2 separate regions of the Homo sapiens genome follow, and region 2 is linked to region 1. The links are contacts of gene promoters, found by promoter capture Hi-C in human tissues and cell types (Jung and others, 2019). All regions are on one chromosome and are shown on one strand. The core of a region is centred on a gene start or on the middle of the fragment in contact, and the rest is flanking DNA. Distances in the headings are between cores, read along the strand shown. Region 1 holds the start of VWA2 (von Willebrand factor A domain containing 2). Region 2 overlaps TDRD1 (tudor domain containing 1).

Region 1 (2,758 bases), core at 124-2,623:
TATAGTGTCACCTTAACAGCAAAAGAGACCTTGAATTTTTGGGACTGAATTTATAAAACACTTAGAGGTTCTGGGGTTTTACTTAAAGCAGCTTGTAATTTGAAAAATGTACACGTTCTAATTATTCCAATCTCCAAGACATCAAACACATGGCATGAGGTCCCCATTGCTAAGTCCCCTTTCAGCTTCAGCTGGAGCCCTTGATTCCACAATCACAAGCAGCAAGGTGCCCTCCTCCCTTCTCTTCTGTCTGGTGCCCCCAGCAAGTTTTCAAGGTTCAATTCTGAGACTCTCCCATTCACCGTCCCAGCAGGTGGCCAAGGGCCCAAGGCGGGAGGGAAAGGTCGGCTTAGCTAGGGAAAGTTTTGTTAGCCTTATTGGAAGGGAAGGAGACATGCAGGAAGCAGGGCTGAGCCAGGTGGGGGAAGTCACCAGAACGACAAACCCCTGGACTTCCCACTGCCCAAGCGCGAGGACTCTCGGGGCAGCCGGCCCCTCTCAGGTTCTGCTTGCAGACACTTCGCTGGGGGCACTCGTTCTGCCTGGGAAAACTGCCCCAAGTCCCCTTAACACCTGTGTATGTCCTGTAGTGGGGTGTGGGGTGGAAGCGAGCATGTCACCAAAGCCTTTATTCAAAGGGCGAGTCCCTTTCCGCGGCCGCCAGGGAAGGGGGCCCCGCTACTGTGCCAGGAGGGCAGCTTGGGTTTAATACATGCCCTCCTCCACCCCTGTACCCGGAGCCCCTACCCACTTACCTGCTGACCGCACCCCTCCCAAAACCCCGCCAGCTCGCCCGGGACGGACCGCGAGTGGCCACGAGGGAGGCGCGCGCCAGGTGCGCTCTTCCCCCGACGCCGCCGTGCCAGGAAGGCCGCGCTCAGGTGCGCGCAGACAATGCGAACAAAGCCCGCACCCTCGGCGGGGCCGCGCAGCCCGGGTGCTCTGGGTAGGGGTGGCTGGGCAGAGGGGGCCCCAGTACCGGGAGCGTGAATCGGTCATCGGCAGCCGGCACTGGCGGGTACCCGGGCGCCAGAGCCAACTCGGGGCTGGGACTCACCGGAAGGAGAGCGGCGACCAGCGCTCGGTGCCCGGGCGGCTCTACTCACAGACCCGGGCGCGGCTCGGGCCAGGGGGCGCTACGGGATCACAGGAGGGGCGCCCGGGGCGCGGCTGCCACGTGGGACACCTGTTTGTCTCTCCTGGGAGAGGGCGGCACGACCCGACCCGGCTGAGGTCGGAGGAACTACCGCCAGGGAGGTGCATAGAGCCCCTCGCGTTTTTTAAAGCGGCATCGGCCCAGGTCTGCAAATAAAAAAGTACTTCACTTCTACGCGGGTCACCCAGCCTCCGAGCGGTGCAGCCGCGAACACTGTGCCGTCAGCTGACTCCTCCACGGGCTTTATAGCTCCTTGAAAAAATGTTGACTTTGGCATCTTTTCTATTTGTCATGGCAATTGCCTTTTAATTACCTGTCCCTCCTATTGTTGCAGTTGGGTAATAAGCCGACCTTTTGGCCATCATCCTTGCTTAAGATTGGAGGGCGTTTGATTTTTAAAAAATCAAATGCCACAAAGCACAATGCTGAGCATGATGCTTTATATAAAGTAAGCTCTCAATGAACGTTGACTATGACTGCACAATCCATAATTTCCATACTTCATTTAAAAACTGCCAGAGCATGCCTGTTCATTGCAAAAAAAAAAAAAAGAAAAGAAATAACAGTAAAAAAGTTGATAAATCAATCATTTTCCAACACCCAGAGATAATCAGTTAACATTGTGGTGTATGTTCTTCCAATGTCATTCTACCTATGCAAAAATTTATATATTTTTAGTTCATTCCATACAAGCTGTACATTACTCAGGTTTTCCATTTCCTTTTTTTGAATGTCCGTTTTAAGCCACTTCATAATGTCCTAATGTACTTAACCTATCTGCTATTGTTGAATATTAAACTTTCCATTTTAATAATACAATTAGATGTCTTTGTGCTTTTGTCCAATTAATTCCTTAGAATAAACTACGAAAAGGTAAATTTCTAGGATACAGGTTTTATACAACTTAAGACTTTTGATGCCTATTATCTAATTGTCCTCAAGGAAGGTTGACCTGCTTCCTCTTTTCCATGCTCCTTCCCATTATTCTTGTAAATGTCAATCTGATAGGAAAATAATTTGCTTTACACCTTTCCTGTCTGTAGTTCTCAGTTAATTTCCAAACCTCCGACACTGACAGCTTCCAGTGAAAGTGGCCCGTGGTGACTTTAATGTTGCAAACCTCATTGAAGGAGGCTAGGAAAGGACTCATTTTTCCTGTAATTCATTTCTCCCAGTAACATTTACTGAGCACCCAAAAATAAAAACAGGGCCACACCAGAGCAGCAGACATAATGTACCACCACATCATCCCCACAGGGGACAGCAGTTAGTCTTGAGGTCTAACTGCTGGGGAGGGATGGTCTCTGCCTCTAGATCAGCATTGCCCCAGAGAAATACTGACCAAGCCACGTGTGTAATTTTAAATGTTCTAGTGGTCACATTTAATAAAAAGTGAAAAGAAACAGCAAGCTGGATTTCAGTATTAACCTAAACATCCGGAACATTATCTCAACATGTAATCAATAAAGATGTTTTATGCTGTCTTCAAAGTCCTGTTTTTTTGTTTTTTTTTTTTTTTTTTTTGTTTGAGACAGAGTCTCACTCTGTTGCCCAGGCTGGAGTGCAATGGCATGATCTTGGCTCACTGCAACCTCTGCCTCC
Region 2 (2,758 bases), core at 188-2,687, 49 kb after region 1:
GAAACAACCCAGGTGTCCTTCAATAGGTAAATGGTTAAACAAGTTGTCCATACCATGGAATACTACTCAGCAATAAAAAGGATAGAACGATTGATGCATACAACCTAGATCAATTTCCAGATAATTATGTGAAATGACAAAAGCCAATCCCAAAAGGTTACGTACTGTTTGTATGTAGCCTTTTATATAATATTCTCAAAAATGTCAAAATTGTCGAAATATGCATATCAGTGGCTGCTATGGATTAAGAGGGCAGGGGCAGAAGGAAAAGTGGATTGGCTACACCAGAACATAAGCAACAAGGTATATAAGGGACCCTTGTAGTGATGGAAATGTTCCGTATCTTGATGGTGTATCAATAACCCAGTTGTGATATTGTACTATAGTTTTGCAGCATGTTAACATGGGCGAAATAGGTGAAAGACTACACAGGATCTCCATTATTTCTTACAACTGCATGTGAATCTACAATAACCTAAGAAAGTTTTCTTTTTTTAAAAATGTACATAAAAGAAAAAACATTTGATCTTGAATGATACCTACAAATTGAACACTTCTTTATTAAATAAATAAAACATGTTTAGAATCTTTTACCCAAACAAGCACACACACAATAAAATAACTTACAATATTCACTTCTTTGGGTGGTGAATTACTTTCAGCACTTGGTGGTGACACTGAGTTTCCTGGGGAGGAAAAACACAATTTCAAATAAAAGCCAAATAATACTTTTTATTGCTAATAATGAAAAATAGTGTAATTAGGTGATATTCAAGTAACAGGGCTATACCACAATGACCTTATAGCTACACCAGAACATAAGCAACATCCTACTTTTCCCAACAGAAAATAAGGACTTAGCTGGGCACAGTGGCTCACCCCTATAATCCCAGCACTTTGGGAGGCCAAGGCAGGTGGATCACTTGAGGTCAGCAGTTCAAGACCAGCCTGACCAACATGGTGAAACCCCGTCTCTACTAAAAATACAAAAATTAGCTGGGCATGGTGGTGCACTCTTGTAATCCCAATTACTCAGGAGGCTGAGGTAGGAGAACCACTTGAACCTGGGAGGCGGAGGTTTCAGTGAGCTGAGATAGCGCCACTGCATTCCAGCCCGGACAACAGAGTGAGACTCCGTCTTGAAAAAAAGTAAAAATATAAATAAAAGGACTTGTTCAAAATTTTCTTGACTAGTGCTCCTCTCATTGTGAACTTTTCTCCATTCACTAAGGCAGCAGTTCTCAAATTTTCTGGTTTCAGAAACCCTCTGCACTTTTAAAAGCTGAGGACCCTACACAGCTTTTGTTTACATGGCTTATTTCAATCAATATTTACTGTATTAGAAATTAAAACTAAATTTAAACATCCATTTAAAAATAAATGCATTACATGCTGATAATTTTTAAAAACTATATTTTTCAAAACAAAATATAGAAGAATTACACATTTTTGCATATCATTAATGATTGGCTTAACAGAAGACAGCTGGATTCATATACAGCTTTTGCCTTCAACTCAGTGAAATGTTGCTTCTGGTTTTGGTATCTGAAAAAAAAAGTTTGGCCTCCCGGAGACAGGTATTTGCAACGAGGAGGAATACTTAATGTTCTCCTCTGTTAAAGGCAAATAATAGAAGGATATTTGCCTTTAATAGTACACCAAAACAAGTGGCATAGGGTTAGAAGCAATGTGAACTCTAAAACCACATCAAGGAACTTTTCATATTGTTACGTTAGAATTCACTGATTATCCCGCACTTTGGATTCCTGCGCATGCATGACTGCAATACCACGCATTGGTCATTTGGAAAAGACAGGTTCATTGAGTTATATGCAGCATTTCCAATTGTTGACACATTTCATTATGCAATAGCAAAAATTCATGTGTTAGGGCCTGGTGCGGTGGTTCATGCCCGTAATCCCAGGGTTTTGGGAGGCTGAGGCAGGAGGATCGTTTGTGCCCAGGGGTTTGAGGCCGTAGTAAGCCATGATTGTGCCATTGCACTTCAGCTTGGGTGACAGAGTGAGACTGTCTCCAAATAAAAATATTAATATTCATGTGTTAATATCATCATGCATCTCACCAGAAAAGTCTGTCTTGGGAAGTCCTTAAGCTCAAAGTGGCAGACACAAGTTTCCTAAAACCCGAAATTGCTTGAAAGCTTGAACTCTGTCACTGACAAAATATGTCAGCTGTTTTCCTTGAAGTAAAGGGCTCACTTTGTTAATTTTTGAGAAAATGCTTGCCAGGTAAGTCTGAATAACCAGTGTCCATCTTTTCAAGTAAAAAGTATGTTCCAAGAAGAGAGTTTCTCTTCAGCTTACAACTCAATTGCACACATGGTTTTCCTACTTCAGAAGGTAAAAGTCAGGAGTAATTCCCATTTCATTACACAAATACTAAAAATACTGCACACAATGATCAAGATTTAACAGAATACTTTTTACTGCTCAATCAAGTGCATTTTTAACTGAAGTTGGCATTTCTGGTTTTCCTTTTAAGTGCATGACGATGAAAAACTCAGGTTGGCGCTCCTGCCTTAAGCTGAGCTAATAATTTGCTTTTGCACCATTAGTATAAAGTTGGCATAGCAGAAAAGACAAATACTGTGAGGAAAACAGTTTTGACCTCCTGGGGAAGCCCAGAGGCCCAAGCGCACATTCTGAGAATTATATCACCATGTTAGAAGACCACAACTCATATACCTTCAAAGAGGCTAAATTCTACCAGGTCCTAACCTCTTTAGAAAGGTTTTTTT

Evidence for each region. The method cuts DNA at HindIII sites, captures the fragments that hold promoters and counts their contacts. A contact is called where the count stands out against the background at its distance.
Region 2: a contact is called between a fragment that was not itself captured here and the fragment with the promoter of VWA2 in region 1, in 1 of the 25 tissues and cell types used here (H1 embryonic stem cells).

What each region holds. Positions count from the first base shown.
Region 1 is chr10:114,237,869-114,240,626 of GRCh38, reverse strand. VWA2 (von Willebrand factor A domain containing 2) reads right to left here and starts at 1,373. Exons shown (of 14, transcript NM_001272046.2): 1 at 1,058-1,373. RefSeq lists an enhancer at 754-1,462. The HindIII fragment of the contact is 6,749 bases long and covers 1-2,758 here.
Region 2 is chr10:114,188,889-114,191,646 of GRCh38, reverse strand. It overlaps TDRD1 (tudor domain containing 1), which reads right to left. Exons shown (of 25, transcript NM_001395205.1): 3 at 628-686. Among named protein-coding and RNA genes, the nearest start is that of TDRD1, 11 kb to the right of the region's middle. The HindIII fragment of the contact is 5,775 bases long and covers 1-2,758 here.